2 separate regions of the Homo sapiens genome follow, and region 2 is linked to region 1. The links are contacts of gene promoters, found by promoter capture Hi-C in blood cells and fetal thymus (Javierre and others, 2016). All regions are on one chromosome and are shown on one strand. The core of a region is centred on a gene start or on the middle of the fragment in contact, and the rest is flanking DNA. Distances in the headings are between cores, read along the strand shown.

What was found. The method cuts DNA at HindIII sites, captures the fragments that hold promoters and counts their contacts. A CHiCAGO score of 5 or more calls a contact.
Region 2: a fragment that was not itself captured here is called in contact with the fragment with the promoter of CEBPB in region 1 in 15 of 17 cell types (monocytes, neutrophils, naive CD4 T cells and 12 more); the score reaches 18.0 in monocytes.

Annotation. Positions count from the first base shown.
Region 1 is chr20:50,184,873-50,192,387 of GRCh38, reverse strand. CEBPB (CCAAT enhancer binding protein beta) reads right to left here and starts at 1,558. Exons shown (of 1, transcript NM_005194.4): 1 at 1-1,558. The coding sequence starts at 1,354. The coding sequence ends at 317. CEBPB-AS1 (CEBPB antisense RNA 1) reads left to right here and starts at 319. Exons shown (of 7, transcript NR_125739.1): 1 at 319-724; 2 at 966-1,120; 3 at 2,103-2,390; 4 at 2,827-2,932; 5 at 3,761-3,845; 6 at 5,261-5,375; 7 at 5,968-7,515. RefSeq lists silencers at 216-325, 746-1,185, 1,326-1,535, 1,362-1,656, 1,616-2,025 and an enhancer at 5,704-5,793. The HindIII fragment of the contact is 16,423 bases long and covers 1-7,515 here.
Region 2 is chr20:50,446,581-50,453,121 of GRCh38, reverse strand. No RefSeq gene overlaps it. Among named protein-coding and RNA genes, the nearest start is that of PTPN1, 61 kb to the left of the region's middle. RefSeq lists an enhancer at 3,633-4,598. The HindIII fragment of the contact is 3,682 bases long and covers 3,258-6,541 here.

The DNA of each region.
Region 1 (7,515 bases), core at 309-2,808:
ACCGGCCCGCCCGCCGGCGCCTGGAGAGGGGCAGAGGGAGAAGCAGAGAGTTTATCATTCATCTGTACACATAGACGTTTCTTCTTTAAATAACACCACGGGCGGGAGCCCCATCTGCATGTGCGGTTGGTTTGGACAAAAATATAGATATATATATATAATAAAATATTAAAATTACCGACGGGCTCCCCGCGCTGCCAAGTGCCCCAGTGCCAAAGTTTTGCCGGCGCCGCCGGGGGCGGGGGCGAGGGCGCGGGCGCGGGCGCTCCCCGGAGTCTCAGCCCCGGCCGGCAGGGGGACGCGCGCGGGGGCCGCGCTAGCAGTGGCCGGAGGAGGCGAGCAGGGGCTCGGGCAGCTGCTTGAACAAGTTCCGCAGGGTGCTGAGCTCGCGCGACAGCTGCTCCACCTTCTTCTGCAGCCGCTCGTTCTCGGCCGTGAGCTCCAGGACCTTGTGCTGCGTCTCCAGGTTGCGCATCTTGGCCTTGTCGCGGCTCTTGCGCACGGCGATGTTGTTGCGCTCGCGCCGGATCTTGTACTCGTCGCTGTGCTTGTCCACGGTCTTCTTGGCCTTGCTCTTGACCTGCGAGGGCGCCGGCGCGGCCCCCGCGTAGCAGGCGGTCGGGGGCGCCTTGGCGTCAGCGGGGCTCGGCGTGCCGGGCGGGCTGGACGAGGAGGACGTGGAGAGGCTCCCGCTGCTGCCGCTCGGCACCGCCTGGTAGCCGAGGTAAGCGCGCAGCGCGTACGGGAAGCCCGCCGCCATGCCTGCGCCGCCGCCCGGCGCCCCGGCCTCCTCCTTCCGCTTGCAGTCCGCGGGCTCGAAGCCCGGCTCCGCCTTGAGCTCGGCGGGCGGCGGCGGCGGCGGGGGCGGTGGGTGCAGGGGCGCGAAGCAGCCGGGGTGCAGCGCGCCCTTGGCGGCCCCCAGGCGCCCCAGGCTCACGTAGCCGTACTCGGCCGGCTTCTTGCAGTTCTTGCCCCCGTAGTCGTCGGAGAAGAGGTCGGAGAGGAAGTCGTGGTGCTGCCCGGAGGAGGCGGGCGCGGGGGCGGGCGCGGGCGGAGCCGCCTCGAAGGTGTCCGTGGCCGTGGCGGGCGCCGGGGCCTGCGGCGCGCCCAGCGGCTCCAGGTACGGGCTGAAGTCGATGGCGCGCTCGTGGTCGCCGATGCTGCCCAGCTCGCCGGCGGGGGGGCGCGGCCCGGGTCTGGCCGCGGGGGGCGCCGCGGGGGCCGCCTTGCCGCCGTACGCAGCAGCCAAGCAGTCCGCCTCGTAGTAGAAGTTGGCCACTTCCATGGATTTAAAGGCAGGCGGCGGCGGCGGCAGGGGGAGACATGCTGGGTCCCAGGCCACCAGGCGTTGCATGAACGCGGGTGCCCGGGGAGGGGGCCTGGGGCTGCCCGCTCCGGCCGGCCCGCAGGTGGCGCGGCCTCCCTGCTCTGAGCTGTCGCCGCTGCGTCGCTGCTGCTGCTGCCGCCGCTGCCGGGGTGGCCGCTATTAGTGAGGGGGCTGGTGGCTGGACCCTCGGGTGGGTCCCCTTCCCAGTCCCGTGCGCGGCTCTGACTCGCTAAAGTTTCTCCTGAGCCCGGTTATTTATAAGGGCGGCCCGTAGCAACCGCTGCGTCACGCCGGCCCCTCCCGCCGCGCCGCCGGGACGCGAAGGACACGGCCGCGGCCGCCCGAGACCCCCGGGAGGACGGCGGCAGGGCGCAGCGGAGGGACCGGGCACCCGGAGCGCGTTTTCGGGGGGCCCCCGGGACGCAGGGGCGGCCTCACGCCCCCTGCCCACCCCCGCCCGGCCGCCCCGGGATTGGGAGCGAGAGGGGGCGGTGCGACCCCGCCCCCGGACCGCCCCTCTGGGCTGGAGGCTGTCCTGGAAGGCGGGGGAATCGGAGGAGGGGGCGACCTGATCGCCTTCCCCCCGAGACGCGGCCCCGGCCCGCCCCCTGCTGGAGGAGGCGGAGGTTTCAGGAGGGCCGAGCAGAGCCCCGACGGCCGACCAGGGTCGGCTCCCCGGGCCGAACCCTGGAGACCCCAGCCCGCAGCTCTAGCTCCAGGAGAAGCGACCCATCTCCGTGGCCCTTCCTCCCGTAAACTCCCACCTCCTCCCCAGGTCCCCGGCTTTAGAAAGAAGACTTGACGCCTGTGACGACTCCCCTCTTAAGCCACAGACAATATGAGGACCCCGGGGGTCGGCGCGACCGGGCAGGATCGCGCCCCGCTTGGGGCTGGACCCTGGTCCACGGAGCCCCGCCCCTAGCCCCGCCCACCACACCTGCCGCCTGCTCGAGGCTTGGACACGCCCGGGTCTTCTCTTGCCCCGCGCTGCGCCACCCGACCTGGGCCCTGGGATGGGGCAGGGGCGGGGGGTGCTCGGCCCTGCCACACTGTGTGACCTTGGGTGAGTCACTTCACTTCTCCCAGCTGCAATCCATGAAGGGTGTCGCTACTGTCAGTGGTGGTGGCATTGTTCCCACCAGACTCCCAAACCTAAGGCTTACGTTGTGGGCTGCACATCAGAGAGAACGGGACCCCCACGGATTGTGCCAGTGGAGGCCCAGAGAGAGCATGGCGTGGCATACCAAGGTCACATGGCCGCATGTCCCCCATTCATCCCAAATGAAATGCCCTCATCTGAGCCCTAAGACCTATTGCCAGTCCCAGAGGCCAAAAACTTCTGTTTCTGAAGTTGCTAGGGAGGGACTTAAGCGAGGCCTCACGGGAGGGGGTGGTATGCAGGAAAGAGAAGGAAAGAGAAAGATAAGTTTTTACCAAGTCCCTGCCCTGTGCTTACGGTGGGCCTGCACCCCGAGGTTCAACTTTTTTCACCCCACCAGGAAGATGCTTTTGCTGCTGCCATTTCACAGACGGGAAAGCGACAACGGCCCGCCTGGACTTGAACACAGGCCCAAGGCCTTCTGACCACTTGCCCGCCTCTGCTGGGTAGGCTCAGGTTAGAGGGCCCTTTGCCCTCCCGGACCCATTCCTAGGCCATTGGGGCAGCTCCCTGGGCCCACCTCTCTGCCACTCCTAGCCCAGGCCACCTAGGCAGGAGCTCCCAGCCTGCCCGGGGCTGATCCCCAGCCCACTGACCCCAGCCCTGGCCCCAGCGGGCAGGCGGGCATTGCTCAACCTTTGGTGTTATCTGCTGAGCTGGGGTGACCTCCGCCCCCAAGAGCTGGAGAAATGACATCTCTGGGCACCCTTGGTGGGTAGGAGGCAGGGAGGGAGGGGATAAAACACTGGCCCAGCCTGCTGGCTTTCTGGGTCTTCCCAGCAGCCTCTGGGTTGGGGAGGGATCAAGGCCCAGAGGGGTGCGGCAGCTTCCCTAGGGCCACCCGGCCAGCCCTTCCTCACTGCAAAATGGGACACTCAGGGCTGAGCTAGAGGCCACGGCTTCTGAGAGGCCCTCCCTGTCCCACCTGCTAGTGAATTTCCTTCCCTATCGCCAGCCACCATTATCCTAGCTGTCTACCTCAGTCTCCCTGCAGGCTGCCACTTGGGGAGGGCTGGCCCACGAGGGACTCCTGAGCACAGCACGCTCAACATTTACCAGTGAAGGAATGCATTTGCTGTTCCCTGTGCACCAAGAACACTGTCACCCCACCTCTGCCCAAGGCAGCTCCTCAGGTCTCAGCCCAAAAGCTGCCTCCTCCGGGAAACCCTCCCTGACCTTCCCATGGGAAGTCTAGGCCCTCAGTCACTCCTCTCACACCCCTGCTTCATTTCCGTCACCATTCTCATTATAATCAGAATTATCTTGCCTGCCAGTCTTGCTGTCTGTCCCCACGGCCTTCACTACTGTGTCCCTGGTGCCTAGAACAGAGCCTGGTACATAGAAGGTGCTCGATGAATGGTGAGTGAATAAATGGAGGAGGCTGAGAAGAAGGAGAGGTTCCTCGTTAGCTGGGCTGTGTGACCTTAGGCAAAATGGCTCCCCTCTCTGAACCAAAGCACTCGCCCACGTTCCCTTTCTGGATTCTGAAGAGATGCAGGGAGATATGGGGGAACTGAAGCTAATTGGAGGATTTGCTGTGTGTTCTTAGGCCAAACTTCCACCTTCTCTGAACCACATTCCAAGCTCTTTGCATGTATTAACTCATTTAATCCTACTGATAATTTGTAGGAGGCAGGTCTTTTTTCTTCTTCTTTTTTCATATTTTTCAATGTTTTGTAGAGATGGATATGTCTCACTCTGTTGCTCAGGCTTTTCTCGAACGCCTGGCCTCAAGTGGCCCTCTTGCCTCAGCCTCCCAAAGTGCTGAGATTACAGGTGTGAGCCGCTGCGCCAGGCCACAGTCTTATCATTATCTCCACTTTATAGATGAGGAAACTGAGGCCCAGAAGAGCTAAGTGTGTCTGCTCCAGGTCACATGAAAGGATGAGAAGGAATAAAATCTTTCCAGTCTGACTTTCCCTCTTGGGTTTGTCATAACAGGCCTGGCAATGTGAGTCCCATCTTCTGGATAGAAGAACTGAGGCACAGAGAAGGGTAGACCTGGGGTCACACAGTGCGTTAAGGTGTTACTCGGACCTTGCAGGCCAGCCCCCAAAGACCAGACTCAGCCCCAGCAGGGGTCTAGGCCCTCTGGCCTCTGGGGTGGAACATGCTTGCCACCCTTCCCCACCCTCCACCCCCTGCTGGGGATGACCCATCCCTTCTCAGCGCAGGTCCCACCCCGGTGCCGACCCAGGTGTCCTGCAGGGAAGCTGCAAGCTAGGATGACGTAAGCCCTTGTTTTTACAAGGCTCTTGCTCAACAGGCCCCGCCTGCTGCTCCCCCACCCCCACCCCAGTACTGTTCAGCCTTTCCCCAAGAAGTGGGGATGGTGGGAGCTTGAACCACCACGGCCCAGAGGCCCAGAGTACGTGAGTGGCTGTGTGGGCACAGGAAACCAGGATCCCCCTGGCGCCACCTCTCCCAGTCACCTGCCCTCAGAACCTAGAGCCGGAAAGGATCTCAAACTGGCAGCCAGTGGCCAAATCGAGACCACAGATGTGTTCAATTTGACCCCATAGCGTTTTGCTTGATGTGTGTGTGTTTAAGTGAATTTATTGCCAACATTTAAAAATCAGGAGATTTCACATCAAAATTCAAATTTCCAGCTCCTCTTTTAAAACCTGAAGCTGTGGGCTGGGCCCACGTGGCCACATGGTGGTGGGCAGGAGCCAGGCGGGGGCGGGGAGGGAACAGGCACTTTCCTACCTGGGACACACGTCCTCCTCTGCCCCCAAACTGCTTTTCACAATTCCTCCTCCCCATCTCTGCAGCTTTTCCCTATCCCATTTTCAAGAGGAGAAAACTGAGGCGATTTGCCAAGGGGAGATCCACGTGGCTGCTTTGACAGAGAGTGTTCTGCAAAAGGGCTTAGAAATCAGCCAGCAGGTGGGAAAATATGGCGGAGAGGTGAACCATCAGAACATGAATGGGGGGGTGTCTCTAGTGGGCGTGGGGCAGGGGGATGGCAGGGGGATGGCCTTTCATGCTGCCCTGTGCCTTCCATGCTGTGGCTCTCCGGCCGTGTCTGGTGTCCCCTCTGGGCCTCAGTCCCTGGTATATAAAATGAGGTGATAATATTCTATCTGGGATTCTGGGCCTGCTGTTACCCCTCACTGCTGGCCTTCCCCGACACATTAGAGTTAATCAGATGTCCCTTTCACCCCACAAAGCAGGCAGATGGGGAAACTGAGGCCCGAAGAGGATTAGAACTTCCTACTTCCCCCTCCAAATCCCCCTTGTACCCTTGTGAATGGGTACAAGAGCCAGACTTAAAAGCCAGATTCCCTGATTCCAATGTTTGAGATTTTCCCCATCATGCCTCCTCTCTGAGGCCTCAGTTTCCCCATCTGCCAAGTGGGGCTGGCAGAGATAGATCCCCAAGGGCTGCCAGGCTCCGAGGTTCTGAGATCCAGGATTTTGGAGACGGGAGGTGCTCAGGACCGGTAGTGAAACTTGCCTGAGTATATACTGCCCCCAGGTGGCAGGTTCTGGGACTGCAGGAGCCATTCACATGCGTGAAGATCCGCTGGGCGCCCTTGCTCTGGGATCAGGAAAGGCCGGTGCCATGGATGTGATAGATGCACACAGGGCATCAGCAGGCCGCCGAGAGGAACCAGAGTGTCCAACGAACAGAAAACAGTGCTCAACCTTCACATTTATCGAATGTTCCTTGGCACATGCTGTAATTCTGGCCCTAAAGACACATTCATGGACAAGACAAGCAATTCCTGTTCTCGTGGAGCTGAAATTCTCCTGGGGGAAGACAAGCACTAAACAAGATCAATGATTAAAGTATAGATTGTATTAGATTCTGGTCAGCACTATGGAGGAAAATACAGCAGGGGAGCAGAGCAGGAGTTCTGGGAGATTTGATTTTTTGTTTTCTGGGGTTTTTTGTTTGTTTGTTTTTTGAGACAGGGTCTCACTGCTGGAGTGCAGTGGCACGATCTCTGCTCACTGCAGCCTCTGCTTCTTGGGCTCAGGTGATCCTCCCACCTCAACCTCCCAAGTAGCTGGGACCACAGGGGCATGCCACCACACCCAGCTGATTTTTTAATGTTTTGTAGAGATCAGGTCTCATTATATTGCCCAAGCTGGGGGAGTTGATTTTAACTTTATGTTAGAGTAGTCAGGGAAGACCTCACTGAGGTGACATTTAAGCAAAAACCTGAATGTGGTGAAGCAGGTATCTGGGGGACCTTGGACCACACAAAGGGAACAGCAAGTGCAAAGGCCCTGAGGTAGGAGCACGTAGTTGTGGTGATGACGGAGAGTAGCAGGAATTTGTGTCATAGAAATAGTGGGGGCTGGCCAGGCACAGCGGCTCATGCCTGCAATCCTAGCACTTTGGGAGGCCGAGGTGGGTGGATTACTTGAGGTCAGGAGTCTGAGACCAGCCTGGCCAACATGGTGAAACCCCATCTCTACTAAAAATTAAAAAAAAAAAAATGGCCAGGCATGGTGGCGTGCATCTGTAATCCCAGCTATTCAGGAGGCTGAGACATGAGAATCACTTGAACCCGGGAGGCGGAGGTTGCAGTGAGCCGAAATTGTGCCTCTGCACTCCAACCTGGGTGACAAAGCAAGACTCTGCCTCCAAAAAAAAAAAAATGGAACATGGAAACATGGAATGGGAGAAAATATTTGCAAATCATATATCTGATAAGGGGTTCATATCCAGAATACATAAAGAACTGTTACAACTCAACAGCAATAAAAACAACTCAATTAAAAATGGGCAAAGGACTTGAATAAACATTTCTCCAGAGAAAACTGTGAATGGCTAATAATCACATGATAAGATACTCAACATCACTAACCATTAAGGAAATACAAACCAAAACTGCAATGAGGCGCAACACTTTGGTGGATCACCTGAGGTCAAGAGTTGGAGACCAGCCTGGCCGACACGGTGAAACCCCGTCTCTACTAAAAATACAAAAATTAGCTGGGCGTGATGGTACGTGCGTATAGTCCCAGCTACTTGGGAGGCTGAGGCAGGAGAATCACTTGAACCTGGGAGGTG
Region 2 (6,541 bases), core at 3,849-6,348, 260 kb before region 1:
AACTTTCTATAAAGGGAAGCACACAGTGTGTGCTCTTCCCATCTGGCTTCTTTTGCTCAGCATCCTGACTGCACAGCTTGTAGAGTTCCAGTCGACTTTGACTGCCACTCAGCAAGAGCGCAGGTGGACTCCCAGAGCGCTTCCTTCCCATGAAGGCCAGGAGAAAGCCACTTGCCCAAAAGCAGTTCAAAGTACGTTGTTACGTGAAAAAGTCAGGTACAAAACCATCTGCATAGCTCAATCCCATTTTTGGAAGGGATAAAAAAGGTCTCTTTTTATGCAGAATCAAAAATGATCCTGAAAAATATGTTAAATTTCCTCTCAACCGTGGTGCATTATAAACACTTAGCAAATCCAAATAGCCCCTGGATGGAGAGGGGTCATCTTGTGTTTGGGGCCATGTTGAACAAAAAATAGGACCTGCCAGCTACACTCACTTGCCATATGAAAATTGTCATTCTCAGCCGGGCTTGGTGGCTCACGCCTGTAAATCCCAGCACTTTGGGAGGCTGAGGCGGGCAGGTAACTTGAGGCCAGGAGTTTGAGATCTGCCTGGCCAACATGGTGAAACCCCATCTCTACTAAAAATACAAAAATTAGCCAGGCGTGATGGTGCTCACTTGTAATCCCAGCTACTCTGGAGGCTGAGGCAGGAGAATCACTCAAACTCGGGAGGCAGAGGTTTCAGTAAACCAAGATTGCACCACTGCACTGCAGCCTGGCCAACAGAGCAAGACTCTCTCAAAAAAAAAAAAAAAGAAAAAGAAAAGAAACGAAAAAATAAAGATTGTCACTCTCCCCATCACCCTTTTTGGCCCACTGATGCCCAGTGAAATTGCGTGAGTTAAATGCCTGGTAGATACAATTCTACAAGATTCAAGTGTTATGTGGAGGTTTTTCCTGCGTAGTGGGGATGGCAGGTGGATTTTTTGTGTTTCTTATCTATTTATTCTAACCTTTCTTCCTTCCTTCCTTCCTTCCTTCCTTCCTTCCTTCCTTCCTTCCTTTCCTTCCTTCCTTCCTTCCTTCCTTCCTTCCTTCCTTCCTTCTTTCTTTTTCTTTCTTTCTTTCTTTCTTTCTCTTTCTTTCTTTGAGAGATAGGCTCTCACTCTGTCGGCCAGACTGGAGTGTAATGCCGCAATCTTGGCTCACTGCAACCTCCGCCTCCCAGACTCAAGCCATCCTCTCACCTCAGCCTCCCAAGTAGCTAGGACTACAGGCACATGCCACCGTGCCCGGCTAATTTTTGTATTTGTTTTGTAGAGATGGGGTTTCACCACGATGCTCAGGCTGGTTTCAAACTCTGGGATTCAAATGATCTGCCCACCTTGGCCTCCCAAGGTGCTGGGATTACAGCTGAGGGTCACCACGCCCAGCCTTACTCTAACTAGCAAAAAATAAGAACAAGAATTCATATATACTAAATAAGAACTGCAGCAGCAGCAGCAGCAATAAACTGGCAAAACAAAAAGAAAGCATTTCTGTCTCCGTTTATGTGCTTCCAGAAGGTCAGCTAGAGAAAGGGCACGTCACCCCGATGCACTGAGTCGATTGCACAAGAAAGGGAGTGCCGACTCCTCCACATCCAGGGGATCATCCAGCCTATATGTGGTTTAAGGGGCAGCCTCAAAGCCAGAAGGACTCGGGTTCAAACCCGAGCATTGCCCCTTACCAGCTGTGGCTCGGTTACTCCTCCTGCATAACAAACCCACCCCAGAACACAGCGGTGTAAAGCAGCCATTCTACTCGCCTGGAATGATATCTCTCAGATCCTGTGGTCAGGAATGCAGACAGGGCACAGCAGGACAGCTTGTCTCTGCTCCACAGTGTCTGGGGCCTCGGCTGGGACAGCCTGAAGGCTGAGGGCGACTTGGTGGCTGGGGTGCTGGCCTCGGTCGGAGAGTCTTCACTTGCGTGTCTGGCAGCTGCTACCGCAGCTGGGCCATCAGAAAGACACCTGTGTGTGACTTCTTCGTGTGGTCTCTTCACTTGGGCTGGTTTGGGTTTCCTCACAACATGGTGGGAAGGGGGAGTGACTGCTAATGGGTGTGAGGTTCCTTTCGGGGGCAATGCAAGTGTTCTAAAATTAGGTAGTGGTGATGATTGCACAACTCTGTGAATACACCAAAACCCACTGGATTGTGTACTTTAAAAGGGTGAGTTTTATGGTATGTGAATTATATCTCAATAAAGCTGGGGGGGTTTTTTTTTACAAAAAAAAAGAAGCAGAAACAGATCATGAGGATGAGAGATGATGCTGTAAGCATCTTAAGACAACACGATGCGCAGCTGGGTGCACTCCCTGTAATTCCAGCATTTTGGGAGGCCGAGGCAGGAAGATGGCTTGAGCCCAGGAGGCTGCAGTGAGCTATGATCTTGCCACTGGACTCCAGCCTGGGCAACAGAGCAAGAAAAAAAAAAAAAAAAAAACAGAAAACACAATTTGCCACACTGTGTGAGGCACTATCTTTCTATGCCTCAGTTTCTTCTTCTGTAAAATGGGACTATTTAATAATCAAATGAACTCATAGGGTCTTTCAGGGTGAAGAAAGGTAATTCTGAGCCTAGTAGCTGGCACATAGTGAGTGCTCAGGAAATGTTATTATTTCAAACAATAAAATGCCATAAGGCAGCAGTGTGTAGAGTTAATTAAAACAACAGGTTTTAGAGCCAACCCACAAATTTGAATCTAGCTTTCTCAGTGGTTAGTTACTTAACCACTCTAGATCTGTTTCATTATCTGTAAAATGGAGTTAACATAGTACCTGCCTCATACACTGTGACAATCAAATGAGTTAATAGCACGAAGGGCTTGGAACGGTGCCTATGTGCAATACAGCACAGTACACAGTAGGTACTACATAGTTGCTGACTGTTATTGCTTCTGGCATTTCCCTGGCTTCCTGGCGCTGCTTAGGTGGTGTGGATCCATTGGAAGCGTTTGTGTAATAGTAATAACAACAATGATGCTAACAGCTGGCCCTTATCCACTGTCACAGGATGAGGAGGGGATGCTGGGCACCCCCTCATACCAGCCACCAGGGAATTCCACACAGGAGCTGGGCTGGCTGCAGAGGGCTGAGTGGTAGACCCCAGGGGAAGGTGAGGCATTCAGCCGGAGGGGACTGGATTCCCAGAGGAGCAGAGGAGCAGAGGATCCTGGGGCCACTGAGGGGCTCACAGGGCTGCGGGGAAGGGAGCTATAGGCTGGAGCAGAGAGCAGGAAAGATGGGCAGAGGCCAGACAGCCAAGAAGCTTGCAGCCTGGACTGTGCCCTGAGATTCTTGGATGCTCTTTCGTTTTCTTACTGAAAATACTGGAAAAAACAGCCTTGTCCCATCTTAGGACAAACGTGTTTCTCTCTTCCTTCTTGGCCTCTGCGGGGGTGACTCTCTTCCAGCTATCCTCTCATTCCCTCCTAAGGTTCATAGCAACACCTAACACGGACAGCTTCGAAGATCCCTGAATGGTGCTAAAGGCTTTTTGCCGTAGGCTTCCCAGATTCTCACAACAGCCCTACAGAGGTTATGTAGAGAGACCCATTTTATAGAAGAGGATACTGGGGATGGAGGGAGGAGCCATTTGCACAGGTCATACACTAATGAGTGGCAGAAACAAAATCAATCTCTGACGCCTTCTCTCATTCTTTCTACAAGTCCCACTGATGGACTACTCTGCTCCAGGCATAGTTAGACTCGGGGATACAGCAGTGAACGAGAGAAATCATTGCTGGCCAGGCGCGGTGGCTCATGCCTGTAATCTCAGCACTTTGGGAGGGTTAGGTGGGCAGATCGCTTGAGGCCAGGAGTTCGAGACCAGCCGGGCCAACATGGTGAAACCCCATGTCTACTAAAAAAAAAAAAAATTGCCAGGTGTGGTGGCTTACACCTGTAATCCCAGTTACTCAGGAGGCTAAAGCACTTGAACCCAGGAGGTGGAGGTTGCAGTGAGCCAAGATTGTGCCACTTCACTCCAGCCTGGGCAACAGAGTGAGACTCTGTTTAAAAAAAAAAAAGAGACATCACTGGTTCCCTCCTCAAGCTGATGCCCTACGGCAGGAGATAGACAACTCAACAACAAGAAAAAACGTCTCCTGTATATTGAGGCCAGGAAGTTCACTGTAGTGACCAACCCAGCAGAGCAAGGGAGGAGAATGTCAGGAATGTGGGCTGTTTCAGCAGCTTTAGCCCTGAGAAGGGAGGGAGGAAGCCTTGGGAATATCTGGGGGCGGCGTGTGCAGGGCAGAGGGAACAGCAAGTGCAAAGGCCCTGAGGTTGGATCATGCAAGCACAATGTGGCTGGAGGAGAGTGAGTGAGGGGAGTTTCTCCTAAGTGCCAAAAGGAGTTGGGAAACAGGCCAGGCATGTTGGCTCAGGCCTGTAATCCCAGCACTTTGGGAGGCCAAGGCCAGAGGATCACCTGAGGTCAGGAGTTTGAGATCAGCCTGGCCAATATGGTGAAACCCCGCCTCTATTAAAAATACAAAAATTAGCCAGGTATGGTGGTGCACACCTGTAGTCCCAGCTTCTTGGGAGGCTGAGGCAGAAAAATCGCTTGAACTTGGGAAGGGGAGTTTGCAGTGAGCCAAGATTGCACCATTGCACTCCAGCCTGGGCATCACAGTAAGACTCCGTCTCAAAAAAGAAAAAAAAGAAGAAGAAGGCCAGGCACGGTGGCTCATGCCTGTAATCCCAGCACTTTGGGAGGTCAAGGCGGGAGGATCACTTGAGGTCAGGGGTTCGAGACCAGCCTGACCAACATGGAGAAACTCCATCTCTACTAAAACTACAAAAATTAGCCAGGCATGGTGGCGCATGCCTGTAATCCCAGCTACTCAGGAGGCTGAGGCAGGAGAATCACTTGAACCTGGGAGAGGGAGGTTTTGGTGAGCCGAGATCGTGCCATTGCACTCCAGCCTGGGCAACAAGATCGAAACTCTGTCTCAAAAAAAAAAAAAAAAAAAAAGAGCCGGGAAACACAGTATGTCCAGACTCCAACCTCTTGTCACCACCTCCATAGCCACCGCCCTGTCCTGCCACTGCCACCCTGCACCCGGACCACTGCAGTGGGTCCTTGCTGGCCTCTTAGCTTCCACCTTTCTCCTCCATCCCACCCCACCCGCTTCGCACACACAGTCCAGTCTCCACATGTAGCTAGAGGGAGTCTATCACCCATACAACCACATTGCCTCTGCTCAGAATCCTCCACGGCTCCCACCTCACTTAGAGTAAAAGCCAAAGATCCTATGAGGCCCTGCAAGATTGATACCTCATCCCCTCTCTGACCTCATTTCCACCCCCTTCCCCTCACTCACTCTTCTCCAGCTGCACTGGCCTTCTTGCTGCTTCACAGACACACAAGGAGCAGTCCTGCCCCAGGACCTTTGCACTTGCTGTTCTTGCTGGCTGGACTGTTCTTTCCACAGATATCCTGAAGGCTTGCTGTCCTTACCAGCTTCAGATCTTTGCTCAAATGTACCTTCCTCCTAAGGCCTTCCTTGACCACACCCAGCATGCCTTCTCCACCTTTGCAGCACTATTTTCACTGTCAGCAGAACTTACCACCCTCTGGAATTTATGCTTTTCCTTCTTTTTCTTCATTGCCTCACCAGCCAGAATATAAGTTGCATGAAGGAGGAATTTGTGTCAGTTTTGTTTGCAGCTTTCTGGCACATAGTAAGTGCTCAATAAATCTTGGTTGAGTGAATGAAGTACAAATGAAAAAAAGAATTGAGTGAAGTGGTCCTGATGGAGGGCGACAGGGAGTGGTGGGGACTGTGGCAAACGGGGAGCCCTTGCCCCATCTGGAAGGAGCAACTACCGTTTGACGGCAGCCTGAAGTTTCCACGTGGGAATGTGGGCTCAGGGCGGCCAGAGAGCCAAGAGTTTCAAGGGAAGCCAGAAACTCCTGCATTTACATGAAATGTCTTGATTTTGAAACCACTGCTGACCAAAAATCCACATCTTCCATGTTCTTAGGTGGGAGACTGCTGTTTGAGGCCTCCAACCTGGGTCAAAATGCTTGCAGTGGGTTTCATGGAATCCCAAGATATCTGGGAAAGCTGACTGGGGTTACAAGAGAGGAGTCTCGTAAGTGGAGTCAGCCTTTGAGTGTTTCTGTGAAATAAGTGTCATTTTCATTGTGAGGTTCTGGAAATGATTTTATTTCCGGGTGAGCTTCCTGCTCTTGTTTCAACTTTCAATCCTACTCTCCTATTCCTGCCAGGCCTGGGCATTTTTCTTCCACTCTGGAGAAAAAAATCAAAAGTAAATATTGGCAGAAGATTGGCTTTATTGTGGTCCTGATAAGGAATAGCATAAAACGGAAAGAGTGAGATTTTATTCCCCTCCCACAACTTCCACTCCGACCCTACTTCTTTAATATTTACTCACAAATTTCACTTCATAGAAACTCTTGGTGTTAGTTTTGTTACCAACAGGGCTGCCACATGGGGTGTGCCCTCACAACTCCAATGGCTCCATTCTACAAATGGCCCAATGAACGGCACCCGCTGAAGTTGTGCTGTGATTGCCTGTGAAGT